Regions from separate parts of the Homo sapiens genome. Here region 2 is linked to region 1. Evidence: promoter capture Hi-C in human tissues and cell types (Jung and others, 2019). All regions are on one chromosome and are shown on one strand. The core of a region is centred on a gene start or on the middle of the fragment in contact, and the rest is flanking DNA. Distances in the headings are between cores, read along the strand shown. Region 1 overlaps IP6K1 (inositol hexakisphosphate kinase 1). Region 2 holds the start of CAMKV (CaM kinase like vesicle associated).

Region 1 (7,151 bases), core at 2,588-5,087:
TTAAATTTCATTTTTATTTTAATTAACCTCAGGGATTTTACTTATGCTTGGAATGTTCTTTCCAGTACCCTTATCCACACCTGCTCCTCCAACCTTTAGTTTATTAGGTCTCCCCAGACACTTCTTCCCTGATCATCCTATATTATATTCTGCTCTGGAAACCATATTTTCAGTGATAGAACCTTACTTAGTTTCTTCATAGCACTTATCACAATCTGTATTTTTGTCTATGTGTTTGTTTTTCACATTAGTATGGAAGCTCCTTGAAGGTATGGACTTTTTTTTTTGTCTTTTACACTTATGAGTTCAGGGCCTGGCATCTAGTAGATGGTCAGTAAATACTTGATAAATGAATGAGGCAAAGCTTATTTGCATAAATGTACAGAAGCCTTGAACTTCACATTTAGTACTGCAAGCACTAACAGTTGATGATTGTAGCTGGTCATACTAAATAAATGAAAATTTGTTTTTAAACCTGCCAAGATATGAAATATTATTGACACTTTTTCTTAGCTTAATTGAGCTTAAACACCTGTGCTGATAGCAGCAATTAGATGTGTGTATGTGTGTGGGCTAGTAATCATACATGTATTTCTTAGCTCCATGTGCTGAAAGGGCCTAAAAGCAGTGATACTTCAGTAGCAATCAGTATATCTAGTAACCAAATCCTGAGTTTTCTAAATACCATTCTTACAATAAAAAGAAACAGAGCTCCTTGGTGAAATGGTTGGTTCCTGAGTTCGGGCAGGAAAATTATAAGACAAGCCTAGAACATCTTATGGTGACAGATAGTAAAGAAGTGGTCAAAAATCATGTCAGAAGTACGAAGAGCTAACTTTAAAGGAATTGAAGGGCCCAATCTAGAAGAATTTAAATGACAAAATATCCACAAGTCTATACTGATAAATACATGGATATGAAGGGACAACTCTTCCTTATAGAATTCTAATTTCTTTTTTTTTTTTTTTTTTTTTTTTTTTGAGACGGAGTCTCGCTCTGTTGTCCAGGTTGGAGTGCAGTGGCGCAGTCTCGCCTCACTGCAAGCTCTGCCCCCCGGGTTCACGCCATTCTTCTGCCTCAGCCTCCCGAGTAGCTGGGACTACAGGCTCCCGCCACCAAGCCTGGCTAATCTTTTGTATTTTTAGTAGAGACAGGGTTTCACCATGTTAGCCAGGATGGTCTCAATCTCCTGACCTTGTGATCCACCTGCCTCGGCCTCCCAAAGTGCTGGGATTACAGGAGTGAGCCACCGTGCCCGGCCAGAATTCTGATTTATTTTGATTAATAAATATAGAAGGAATGATGGGAATAGAAGTCACCATTAGGCAGACAACACAGTAATACCATTCAGCACACACCATTAGGCATTACACACACCATTAGACATTACAACACAGTAATAATTGTGGCGCATTGTGCAGTGGTGCAATCATACCTCACTGCAGCCTCGAAACCATGGCTCCGCCGGGCATGGTGGCTCATGCCTATAATCCTAGCACTTTGGGAGGCCGAGGCAGGCGGATCACCTGAGGTCAGGAGTTCGAGACCAGCCTCGCCAACATGGTGAAACCCTGTCTCTACTAAAAATACAAAACTTAGTTGGGTGTGCTGGCAGGTGCCTATAATCCCAGTTACTTGGGAGGCTGAGGCAGAAGAATCACTTGAACCCGGGAGGCAGAGGTTGCAGTGAGCAGAGACCACGCCATTGCATTCCAGCCTGGGCAACAAGAGTGAAACTCTTGTCTCAAAAAAAAAAAAAAAACAAAAAAAAAAAACTATGGCTCAAGTGATCCTCCCACCTCAGCCCCCCGAGTAGCTGGGACTATAGGCACGCCACTACAACTAGGTAATTTTTAAAGTTTTTTGTAGAGACAGGGTCTTGCTCTGTTACCCAGGCTAGTTTTGAACTCCTAGCCTCAAGGAATCCTCCCACCTTGGCCTCTCATAGTGCTGAGATTTAAGAGATCGGACCTCACTATGTTGCCTGGGCTAGTCTTGAACTCCTGGTCTCAAGTGATCCTCCTCCATGAGGCATGATACCTCAGCCTCCCAAGTAGCTGGGATCACAGGTGTGAGCCACTGCTCCCAGCTGAAAGGTAAGTGTGTGTGTGTGTGTGTGTGTGTGTGTGTGTGTGTGTGTATTTTGTTTTTGTTTTTGTTTTGAGATAGGGTCTTGCTTCATTGCCTAGGCTAGAGTGCAGTGGTATGAACTTGGCTCACTGCAACCTCTACCTCCTGGGTTCAAGGACCTCAGCCTCCTGAGTAGCTGGGACTTACAGGTGCCTGCCACCATTCCTGGCTAATTTTTGTATTTTTAGTAGAGATGGGGTTTCACCATGTTGGTCAGGTTGGTCTCGAACTCCTGACCTTAAGTGACCCACTTGCCTTGGCCTCCCAAAGTGCCTGGATACAGGTATGAGCCACCGTGGCTGGACTGTGTGTTTTTTTAATATAAAATTTTAGTCCAATTTATTTATTTATATACTATTTTGAGACAGGGTCTCACTCTGTTGCCCAGACTGGAATGCAGTGGCACGATCTCAACTCACCACAGCCTTGACCTCCTGGGCTCAAGTGATTCTCCCACCTCAGCCTCTGGAGTAGCTGGGACCACAGGTGTGCACCGGCTCTTTTTTTTTGTATTTTGTAGAGACAGGGTCTCACCATGTTGCCCAGGCGGGTCTCAAACTTCTAAGCTTAAGTGATCTGCCTGCCTTGGCCTCCCAATGTGCTGGGATTACAGATGTGAGCCACCATGCCTGGCCCTGAAATAGATTAATTTGACTAATAATATCTTCCACTATGCTTCTATTTTTTTTTCTTTTTCTTTTTTGAGATGGAGTCTCACTCTGTTGCCCAGGCTGGAGTGCAGTGGCGCGATCTTGGCTCACTGCAAGCTCTGCCTCCCGGGCTCACGCCATTCTCCTGCCTCAGCCTCCCGAGTAGTTGGGACTACAGGCGTGTACCACCACGCCCGGCTAATTTTTTGTATTTTTAGTAGAGACAGGGTTTCACCGTGTTAGCCAGGATGGTCTCAATCTCCTGACCTCGTGATCCGCCCCCCTCAGCCTCCCAAAGTGCTGGGATTACAGGCGTAAGCCACCGTGCCCAGCCTATGCTTCTATTTTCTTTGACTAAATTGGGCTTCATTTGACTTAGAAAGAAGGGATTAATTTTAGTTTAATTGAATTGTACTTTTGAGCTAGCATATTTATTCTTTCCTAGTGAAAATGTAGCCTAAGCAAAGAAAATAAAGTAGATCCTAAGAATTTACTGTGGCTTTTATTTTTTTATTTTTATTTTGAGACAGGGTCTTGCTGTGTCGCCCAGGCTGGAGTGCAGTGGTACAGTCATGGCTCACTGCAGACTCAAACTCCTGACCTCAAGCAATCCTCTCATATTATGGCCTTTAAAGATACCTGTTACTCAGTTTGAGAGGAGGAAGGTGTGAGGAAATACTGAACCAGTGCTAGAGACTGCCAACCCTTCCCTGGGAGGCACCTTGAAGTTCTAAATTGTCTTGTCCCAGTTCTGATGGTTGTAATTTAGAGAACACCTATCTGGAAGCAGGGCTCATTTACCTTTTAAGGGATTTTTTCCTTAGCATCAGAAGGACTCCATGAGCTGACAGGGCCTATAGTTTTATTTCTGGCTTTGGCATATTTATGGCAGAATGTTTGGCCTTCAGTGTTTTGAATGTGGATGGATAGGTGGCTGAAGCTACATTTATAAAGTGTTTGGGACTGTTAAAGTTTCCTAGCCACTTGGAGAAAGCAGTGTGTTTATTTCTGGCTTTGTTCTTATTTAGCAGCCTTAGAATATTTATTTTTCCAAATTTAGTATTCTTCTGATTATGTTTTGAAAGCAATAAAAATCACCCAGTTTCAAAACTGCACAAAGGGCTTGAATAGAGATTTTTCCAGAGAGGACATACAGATGGCCAGTAGCACATCAACATGATTAGTCATTAAGAAATGCAAATCAAAACCAAAATAAGATACCACTTCATACCAGGTATCTTATTTTACCTAGTATGGCTATAATAGTTTAAAGAAAAAAGGGAAATAACTGTTGGCAAGGATGTGGAGAAATGGGAACATTGCTGATGAAAATGTAAAGTGGTGTAGCCACTGTGGAAAAGAGTTTGGCAGTTCCTCCCAAAGGTGAACACAGAAACCATATGATCCAGCAATTCCACTCCTACATATATATCCAAAACAATTGAAAACAGGGACTGTGGCCAGGTGCAGTGGCTCATGCCTGTAATCCTAGTACTTTGGGAGGCGGGCAGATCACCTGAGGTCAGTAGTTCAAGACCAGCCTGGCTAACATGGCAAAACCCTGTCTCTGCTAAAAAATACAAAAAGTAGCCGAGCGTGGTGGCAGGCACCTGTAATCCCCGCTCCTCAGGAGGCTGAGGCAGGAGAATCACCTCGGGAGGCGGAGATTGCAGTGAGCTGAGGTTGCACCACTGCACTCCAGCCTGGGCGACAGAGCAAGATTCCATCTCAAAAAAAAAAAAAAAGAAAAAAGAAAAAACAGGGATTCAAATGGATTGTTGTAAGCCAGTGTTCACAACAGCATCATTCATAATAGCTAAAAGGTGGAAACAACCCAAGTGTCCATCAATATAGATAATACATAACAGATGTGATATATACTTACAATGGAATACTATTGAGCCATAAAAAAGAATGAAGTTCTGATATATGCTGTGACACAGATGAACCTTGCAAACACTATGCTAAGTGAACTAAGCCAGACACAAAAGAACAAACATTGTATGATTTCACTTATATGAAATATGCATAATAGGCAAATCTGTAGAGATAGAAAGTAGATTTGGTTACTGGGGCTAGGAGGAAGGGAAAATGGGGAGTTACTGCTTAATGGGTACAGCATTTTTGTTTCAGGTGATGAAAAACATTTTGGAAATAGATAATGGTGGTGGTTATTCAGTATTGTCAATGTACTTAATGCCCACTGAATTGTACCTTTAAAAATGATTAAATGGCTGGGCATGGTGGCTCACACCAGTAATCCTAGCACTTTGGGAAGCGAAGGCAAGAGGATTGTTTGAGGCCCGGAGTTCCAGACCAGACTGGGCAACATAGCAAGCCTTGTCGCTACCAAAAAAAAAAAAAAAAAAAAAAGAATTGCAAATTTTATGTTTCTATCGATCGATCTATTGACTGAACACCACAACTTATTTTTATTTTTATATTTTATAGAGACAGGGTCTTGCTGTGTTGCTCAGGCTGGTCTTGAACTCCTGTGTTCAAGCAGTCCTGCCTTGGCCTCCCAAAGAGCTGGAATTACAGTGTGAGCCACTGAACCTGGCCCAAACACCACAATTTTATTTTATTTTTATTTTATTTTTTTGAGATGGAGTGTTGCTCTGTTGCCCAGGCTGATCTTGGCTCACTGCAACCTCCGTCTCCCGGCTTCAAGTGATTCTCCTGCCTCAGCCTCCTGAGTAGCTGGGATTATAGGCACGCACCACCATGTCTGGATAACTGTTGTATTTTTAGTAGAGATGGGGTTTCGACATGTTGGCCAGGCTGGTGTGGAACTCCTGATCTCAGGTGAGGTCCCAGCTACTTGAGAGGCTGAGGCAGGAGGATCACTTGAGTCCAGGAGTTCGAGGTTGTAGTGAGCTATGATGGCACCACTGCACTCCAATGGGACCCTGTCTCTTAAGAAGAAGAAGAATATTATAAAGAACTTTAGGCCGGGCCTGGTGGCTCACGCCTGTAATCCCAGCACTTTGGGAGGCCGAGACGGGTGGATCACGAGGTCAGGAGATGAGACCATCCTGGCTAACATGGTGAAACCCCGTCTCTACTAAAAATACAAAAAAATTAGCCAGGCATGGTGGCGGGTGCCTGTAGTCCCAGCTACTCAGGAGGCTGAGGCAAGAGAATCGCTTGAACCTGGGAGGCGGAGCTTGCAGTGAGCCGAGATCACGCCACTGCACTCCAGCCTGGGCGACAGAGCGAGACTCTGTCTCAAAAAAAAAAAAAAAAGAACTTTAAGCCAATAATTATTCTACAACATAAAAGAAATTGACAAAACATAGGGAGATCCTGTCTCTACAAAAAATAAACCATAAATGCTTCTCACTGATTTTCAGATTATAGAGCCAACTGTGTACATCTGAGAGTATAAAAGCAGAAATGTAGCTGACAGACAAAAGGTGGGATGTGGAAGTGAGACCAAGTTACTTTTTTTTCCCTTCAAAACCTCCTCCTCAAGTTTCTGGATATATGTATTTTTAAATTGTATTAAGAACACTTGAGAGGGGTCTTATTTGTGTTTTAACTCACTAAGATCCAGAAGACACTACAAACAACCCATTTGATTAAAATGGGCACAAAAAACTATTACGGATACAGCACGGCAAACAGAAGGATGTTTTATCTTCGAGATGCCAGGGGTGGAAGTTCTGTGTAGTGAGGCTGGGATAGCCTGATGCTCAGTGTGGGCAGAACACAGATTTTTTTGGACCGTCTTGGAGGGAGAAGTGTTGATGTCCCTTTGGCTGACACTGTCAGGCAGAAGGAAACTAGATCTAAAGGAGGACACACACAGGAAATGGCAGCATAAAGCACTTAAGTAACTAGAGGGTTAAGTGATGCCAGGTGTGGGTGTCACCTAGCGAACACAGTTCTTTTGAATGGTACAAAAAATCAGTAATTGAAAGTGAGAGGGCCAGATAAGAGAAGGGGAAATATAGACTTATCCAGGAACAAAGGTAAGCATCAGATTTAGCTTGGGGATGGACGGTCATCCATTTTCTGGAAGTTACTGTCTGCTGGCTGTTGTTCTGATATTGATCTGTAGTTGGTTCAGGGCAGGTGATGTCTTCATGCTGTGTGGGAAAGTGAGTGCCAACAGTCTGTGCTGCATAGACTCGGCCTGTGTTGACATTTGTTTACCAACTGCCCTTTTTTTAACAGGCGTGGTATCTGTCTGTTTTGAGGGGGACAGTGATGGTTACATCAACTTAGTGGCCTATCCTTATGTGGAAAGTGAGACTGTGGAACAGGATGACACAACAGAACGGGAGCAACCTCGGCGCAAACACTCCCGCCGGAGCCTGCACCGGTCAGGCAGTGGCAGTGACCACAAGGAGGAGAAAGCCAGCCTGT
Region 2 (7,151 bases), core at 1,995-4,494, 130 kb before region 1:
CCCTTGACTGGCATTGGCTCTGATCTGGCCTGACCTTTACTGCACCCCAAGGGCAACCACAGACAGTGGCTGCTGTGGGTTTTGCCCCGTTGCCCTGACGACAAGTGCAATTACCCTTGATTGCCAGCTTGTTGCCATGGCAATTTCAAACATAATGTAATAACCCACACAGCCTGGAGTGAGTCACAAGGTGGGGGGCGGGGGGCAGCCCCCTCCCCTGGCTCCAGAGGAAAAGACTGCTTGCCCTTCCCCATTGTGGGCCCTCTTCTGGGGACTGAAGCCAAGCAACATGGACAACAGTCAGGCAGTTTCAAAGATGGCTGGGGGCCTGGGGTGGGAGGGTTCTGTCAGAGTTCAGGCTTCTTGGGGAGCTGCACTGGTAATCTAGGTACCTCCTAGAGTCTGAACCTTTGCTGGAGCGCTATGCTGGGTTAGCAGGGGCTTCTATCAGCCAGCCAGAATCTAAGGGCATAGGAGTGCCGGCCTTTGGCACCCTAGAGCTGGGAGTTGGGGGCACAGATAAGTCCTGGATCCTGGGTAGGAGGCCCAACCTGAGCTGGGGGATGAAGCTCTGTGGATACTGCGGCTCGCACCTTATTCTGCCCCTCTGACTTTCTAGCTTTGGTGGGAGCCAGAACTACGAACTTGGGCCCTCTTCTCCTCCTCAGCCTCCCAACCCAGGCAGCCCCTGTCTTCAGGGTACAGGCCTCCTTAGGAGGGTCCTCATAAAGGCTACTAGGCAATGCTAATCTGGATTGCCTCTGCTCTTGTTCCAAACTCTGGTCTGTGCTAAAGGGCCTCCTGCCATCACTCTGGCCAGTGGAGTGGTGAGAAATCATGTCCCCTGACCCCGTCTGGCTTTGAATAGTGGAAGTAAGAACAAAGCTCAGCATTGGTCCCGTCCCTGCCCTGGAAGAGCTAAGAGGATGGCATTCAGCTGATGTTACTATCTCCTGCCTGAAAGGCAGCTGGAGGTTGAAGCCAAAACATTGAAGCCGGTCCTACCCTGCCTGTGCCTTCCTGTCTAGGGGCTGAGGGATAAGCCATGGCTCAATCCTAGCCCTGGGTTCTTGTCTTCAGATTGCCCTCCACAAATGGCAAAGACTTGTCTATCTTCACATACACCAGAGATCAAGGGGCTGCTCTGGTGGGGAGCCTGAAAACAGCCAATGATGTAGGGTCAGCACAGACCCTGCCCACTGCTGGACATGGTCCAGCCCCCTTCCCATGTCCAGCTCTCAAAGCCTGATTCAGCCTCCACAATCCTGAGACTTGTGTCAGGCAGGAAGGGGACTGATAACTCCAGGGACCAGCTACAGCGTCCACACACACGTGCCAGCAAGCATGCCTGGGTGCACAAAGAATGCAGACACACGTGCCCCTGGGCACCACTGCATACACTGTGCTGTTGCATCTCCCTCGGCAAAAGAGAGCATACACAACACGTACACGTGTGCACACACACCCTGCCACGTGCTCTCACCCACATGCACAGAGCGTGCTTAGGACCAAGAAGAGGTGGAGTACTGCCAGCAGCAGGCAGGGCGCTAAGGAGCCACCCCTTCCCCTGCCTAAAAATCCCCATTCCAGCTTCTCATTGACCCCCATGCCTGGATAGCCATGACCCTCAGGAAAGACAGAAAACATGTATGTGGCATGTGTGGGGTCAGCAAGCTACAGCTTGGCTACACCATAAAACTCAGAGACCCATTGTTTCAAGAATAGTGGGCAGATGGCAGGAAGGACTCAGTGCCAGGCCATTCATTCATTCTGCAGACATCAGCCGAGCATACTGAGATGAGAAACGGGTTCTGCCTTGCAGATACCCAGCCTGCCAGGAGATTCCTACCCAGTGGTGGGGTGGGTCCCATAACCCGAGACCACTCAGAGCCCAGGGACCCCAGAAGTGGCACCAGCCTGGCCTAGAGGAGGTAACACCAAGCCAGGGAGGAAGGTGAAGGGCTCAGTACCCCCTCTGGAGGAAAATTTTGAGGAACCTTGTTTGAGGCGGTCATTTCCTAAGCTAGCCTTCAGTCTGAGCCCCAGCCCCAGCTTCTGGACTTGGACAGTCCCTCCTGTCATCAGCCATGGGTGGCCAGGGCAGCCTCAAGATGGCTGAGGGTTTGGGGATGACCCCAACTCCCTCTCCCACAGCAGGGTCAGGAGGCTCACTGGGAGGAGTGAGGTGGGATAAAACCCAGCTCCAGACACTGAGAGGCCTGAGTCTGGTCTTCAGATACTGGCCTTAGGATGGTCCTCAGGGCTTGTGAGGGGTGTGGGTCAGGCTTTGGGTCCGTGAGCCTCACTGACAAGGGACAGAGAAATGGCCAAGGACTTCCTTTAAAGCTTCCTCCTGGTGGTTCTGAGCCTCCTCCCTCTGATTAGCACCCAGGCCAGGTGGGATACCTTGGTGCCACAGTTCTCCTGTGTCCCCATATCCCAGGCCAGGCCACTAGAGTGATACAACTCATGAAGTGTTTGACAGTGATTAGACTGAAAAGAAAGCAGAGGCCACACCATGTCACAGGTGACTTTTATAGTTTGGGAAATTTGGTGCCACACAGGAAGGGGCTGACTGTGCTGCCACCCTTGCTGGTACTTATGTTTGGGAAAGACTCTGGCCTTGCAGGAGTTGGGGATGGGGTGGGATAGGAGACTTTGCTACTACAGTCTAGGGCCCTCACTGTTTTCACACTGACTACCTGCAAACACACACCTCTGTGTGTTTACTGCTCCTAGCTAGGGGATGCGTAGCTAGGGGATGCTAGGGGATGCCACACTGACTACCTGCAAACACACACCTCTGTGTGTTTACTGCTCCTAGCTAGGGGAGCCTGCCCTAGCCCGACTGCCCATCTGGTTTTTCTAAGTTGGTCCTGCCTTTTGGGTCGGGTTCGGGGAGCTGGGCAAAGCCCCGTTCCCTAGAGACTAATGACTGGCAAGCGATCCTATGCAGCTCCAGGACTCAGGCTTTCCCCCAACTCTCCACTCACCACCCCTTACATTGGGCATAGGAGGCCTCCTCCGGCCCCAGGCTGAGGGCCTAAGGGAGCCATTGAGAACCTTGGCCAGGGCTAAGCAGGCCAGTGCTCACCAGCACCGCTGCCATCCCGCGCGCTCCTGCTCTCCAGTGGGATTCTGCCCTTAAGGCTCCGCCAGGGTCGGGGCGGGGCCGGTTGGGAGGCCCCGCCCCCAGCCCGCCCCCGGCCCGGGGTGCGAATCCGGTGCCGGCAAGCGGCTGGCGATGCTGGAGGTTCGCTAGCCGAAGCGGCTGCATCTGGCGCCGCGTCTGCCCCGCGTGCTCGGAGCGGATTCTGCCCGCCGTCCCCGGAGCCCTCGGCGCCCCGCTGAGCCCGCGATCACTTCCTCCCTGTGACCAACCGGCGCTGCAGGTGCGGGGCGGGCCGGGCTGGGGGCGCTTCCCGAACGCAGGTTGTGGGGCCTTGGGGGATTGTTTCCCTGGCTCGAGGTGCGGGATGCAGAGTGCGCGGGGGCGCAGCGAGGGCTCGAGGTCCTGGCGGGGTCAGAGCGCGCGGGCTTTGCAGATTTGGGGGAGGGAGTGCGGGGTCGGGCTAAAGTTCCCCATTACCTCGGACGGCTTGGGGGTTCTGGGGGGAAGCTTCTGCGGCTCGGAATTGTGAAAAGATTAACCCTCGAAGATTCGTGGTCCCCCGTGAGGATAGGGGCCGAGAGCTGAGCCGTCCCTCCCCGTTCCCAGAGCCGCCTCCAGCCCCTCCCAACTGTCCCCGGGCCCCTTCCCTCCCGCTTAGCAGTCACTAATTTCCATGACAACGGAGAGTTCTTTATGGGCGACAACCCGGAGGGGGCTGGGCGGGGCTGCCGCGGGGTGGGGGAGGAAGCTCCAAGCCCCTGGGGACCAGCAGCCCCCCAGCCAAAATTCAGCTTCCAAGCCTTCACCTGGGTGCCAGCTGGGGGTCCAGTGCATGGACCCACGTGCACGGTGGGGGTGGGGGCGCACATGTTCCTGCTGGGAGGTGCGGGGCTTGGTGCTCACACGTGTGCTTTCCGCATGTGTGTTGCTGTGCCAGCGGGGGCGAGCCAGCAGCACTTGGGAAAGGGGTCAGGGTGGCAGCACGGTGGGGAGCAGGGCCCCTGGCTGGAGGTGGCTGGGATAGTGACAGCATGAGCTTCTGCCTTCCCCAGCTTGTACTGTTTGGCAGAGACCCTGGGCTCTTGAGCCCCAGCCCCCTCCCCGCATAGCTCTGCCAAATTGCTTTTGTCCGCACCTCCCAGGCAGATCCTGCTCCACCAGGTTCCTTCCTAAGGATCAGGGCCCTCTGTCCCACACTAAAAGCTCAGAGTCTGCAGTAGTCCAGTCCCTGTGCTGTACTCCCCTTACCCCCAAGTCCAGGCTTTGAGCCCCCAGGACTACCTTTAGAGACCTGGTGCCCTCCCCCACCCTCAGAGTTGATTCCTGGCAGCTCCAGCGACTTCTGAGCCTCAGTTTCCTCAACTGGGGAACTGGTGTCTCCACTCAGAGTCAGGTTGGTTTCCAGGGTGGGGCAAGGGTCTCCCTTTTCTAATATTTGGTGTGGACCCTTCAGGTGCTCTCCTAGGCTGGCTGTTCACATATCTCTGATGGCCCTACTCTCCAGCCCCATGCCCTGGCCACCATTCACAGGCAGGCAAGCAGTCCTCTGCCCTGGGAGAAGGCCAGATTCCATGGTTTCCATTAGGGGAAACTGAGGCATGGGGAGGTGAAGGGCTGTGTGGTTATCCTGTTTCTGGGTTGCTTGTGGTGCCGTTTCTGGCACTCATGGCAGGATCTGCTGTTGGGGGTTGGTGAGAGGGGATTAAGCAGAGCTGTAAGAGGGGCTCTGGGGACCCAAAGCCTGGAAAGGATAGCAGATGGGGGAGGGGTTGGCTGGGAGGGTCTAAGTACAGCTGGGCCAACTGAGAAGAGGGACTATAAAGGGAAGCAGCCAGGCATCCGAGCCTCATTTCCATACCCCTATGCGTCTGCCTTCAACATGTTGGACCTGCTTTACCTAAGCTGCCGTGATGGCAGAGAGACGGGCTGGGAACTGTCCTGACTGGGGGGCTGCAGCAGCTGGCCTCTTCCCCACCAACATGCTCCAAGGAGCTGGCCTCCTTTTGGCTGTGCCTCCTACACCAAGTTCAGTGTATGTTTGGGGGATACAGGAGGGTGCAGTCTCGAAGGTCCCAGTACCATGGATAGCTCCTGGCCCAGGGATTTAGAGCACATCGCCATGGAGGCCTTAGGGCTCTGCTGGGCACCCATCCGCCCCCTTCAGAACTCCCGTCCACCTCCCCTTTCCTGCCCTTTGTGCCTGTGTCCCTTTTACTTTGTCATCTCCTTGCTCCTCTTCCATCACAGGTTCTGTCTTTGTCTGTGTCTCTGCCCCATTCTCTTTTTTCTAAATTCTCTCCATCTCCCCACCTCCCCTTTCTTGATGGGGACCTGGGTCACAGAACCTTGAAGAAGCAGCCAGGCTAAGGTCTCAGGAAATTCTTGAAGAAGGGACCTGACCAACACATCTCCCCTCCCCCTCCCCTTGTTTTAAAACTTCCATCACCATAGCAACCCTTTACTCTAGTGCCTTCCTCTGCATTTCCCCTCCTCCACCCACAGGGAAGCAGAGCCTCCAGTGGATTCTCCTTCAGGGGTTCAGAGATTTGGACCCCAAGTGCTTGGGAGGAGACAGCTGGCCTTTGGCTTTGCCTGCATGTTGACAGCTAAACTTTCGGGATGTAGCACTGGACTGCATGCCCACCCCCAAAACTGGAGAGACCTCCCCACAATACTCCCTCATTAGATGGGCAAAATTCAGCTGTAGGAACTTCTACCATGATTTAGCTCGAGCCGGAGGCTCAGTCAGGGCAGCCCCTTGACCGGTCCCCTGAAGCAATTGGATGGTGGTCTAGAAGCTTGGCCCTTGTTCTTAACAGACCTTGAGGGAGGTCTTCAGCTCCCCTGGTCCTGTGGGTGACACCTCAGCTGTGAGTTAAGCAGGGCTTGGGCTTCAGCATGTTCATTGCAGCAGGAAACCCAGCCCCAGCCCTTGAGAGAGTAGAGCAGCAGAGAGGAGGGGGTGCCTGCAGGCTGGTGTTCACAGCTGCCACTAAATTAGGAGGTGTTGCCTACAGTTGTTGGGAGGCAGCTGGAGGCCTCTTGGGCCCCTCCTGGCCTCCCTAGATTTACTGCAAGCTCTGGAGCCCCACGTGGCAGGGGACCAAGGTAGCAGGAAACTCTGTTTATGTCTATGAAAGGTAGGGCCTGAACCAGGATGATCTCAGCGGAGGAGGGGACAGGACCCCAATGTGGGGCCTCCGGACCTCTTGGCCTTTGTCCCGTTTGGGCTTTCCCTGGGCCAGACTTACCTAAAGATGCAGCAGAGTCCCTGGGGGACCATTTATCACCAGGGCACCAACAGAGGACCCCTCAGGATTGCTGGAGGCTCAATTCCCTGAGTCCAGTGGTCAGGCCCTGGGAGCAGGCCATAACTGGGGAGTGCTTGGCTCTCAGGCTCCATGAGAGCCAGCTGGAGGGCAATGGCCGCACCAGGGCCTGCACTCCCCACAAGCTCCCTCTGGGCAGCCGGTAGTGCATACTGTTCAGTTCCTCTGCAGAGAGTGGAGGGAGCCATGTCTCCAGGGAAATGGCTGTTGTGGAGCTCCCATGCCCTTCCATGGCCTAAGTGTACCTGAGGAAGAGCTCAGATCCTGTGTTGCTGAGAGGAGAGCTCTCCATTGTTGGGTGTTGGGTCTGGGCCATGGGGGTGAAAAATACAAACCCCTTCCACTTGGCCTCCTCTCTTTCTGAGAGCTGTCCCTTGGCTGTTCCTCCCAGGTCTCCTTTGTTGCAAGCAGGTGCCCAGGGCTTGGTGCACACACCCGAAACCTCCCAGGGAGCAACAGTGGATAGCAGATGGTGGAGTGGGTGTGGGCAGAGGGAACCAAGGTGCTAATTGAAAGCCAGGCCCCTCTTTCTCCTCTCTTTGCCCTGGGGCCAAGTCCAGGGCCCCAAGCCAGTATACTTAGACTGGTGAGGAGGAGGAGGAGGAGGAGTGACTGGCTGAAATTTGGGCAGCCATAGTAGGGGGCAGGGGAGACAGATCTGTTCCCATCTCAGCCTTGAGGCTTCAGGACATGGCTCCAGGCTGACATTA

What was found. Contacts are between HindIII fragments. The study calls those that stand out against the background at their distance.
Region 2: a contact is called between the fragment with the promoter of CAMKV here and a fragment that was not itself captured in region 1, in 1 of the 25 tissues and cell types used here (mesenchymal stem cells).

The regions. Positions count from the first base shown.
Region 1 is chr3:49,738,231-49,745,381 of GRCh38, reverse strand. It overlaps IP6K1 (inositol hexakisphosphate kinase 1), which reads left to right. Exons shown (of 6, transcript NM_153273.4): 3 at 6,960-7,151. Among named protein-coding and RNA genes, the nearest start is that of GMPPB, 18 kb to the right of the region's middle. The HindIII fragment of the contact is 4,614 bases long and covers 1,531-6,144 here.
Region 2 is chr3:49,865,999-49,873,149 of GRCh38, reverse strand. It overlaps CAMKV (CaM kinase like vesicle associated), which reads left to right and starts at 3,244. Exons shown (of 11, transcript NM_024046.5): 1 at 3,244-3,392. RefSeq lists enhancers at 3,560-4,491, 4,492-5,424. The HindIII fragment of the contact is 8,966 bases long and covers 1-4,765 here.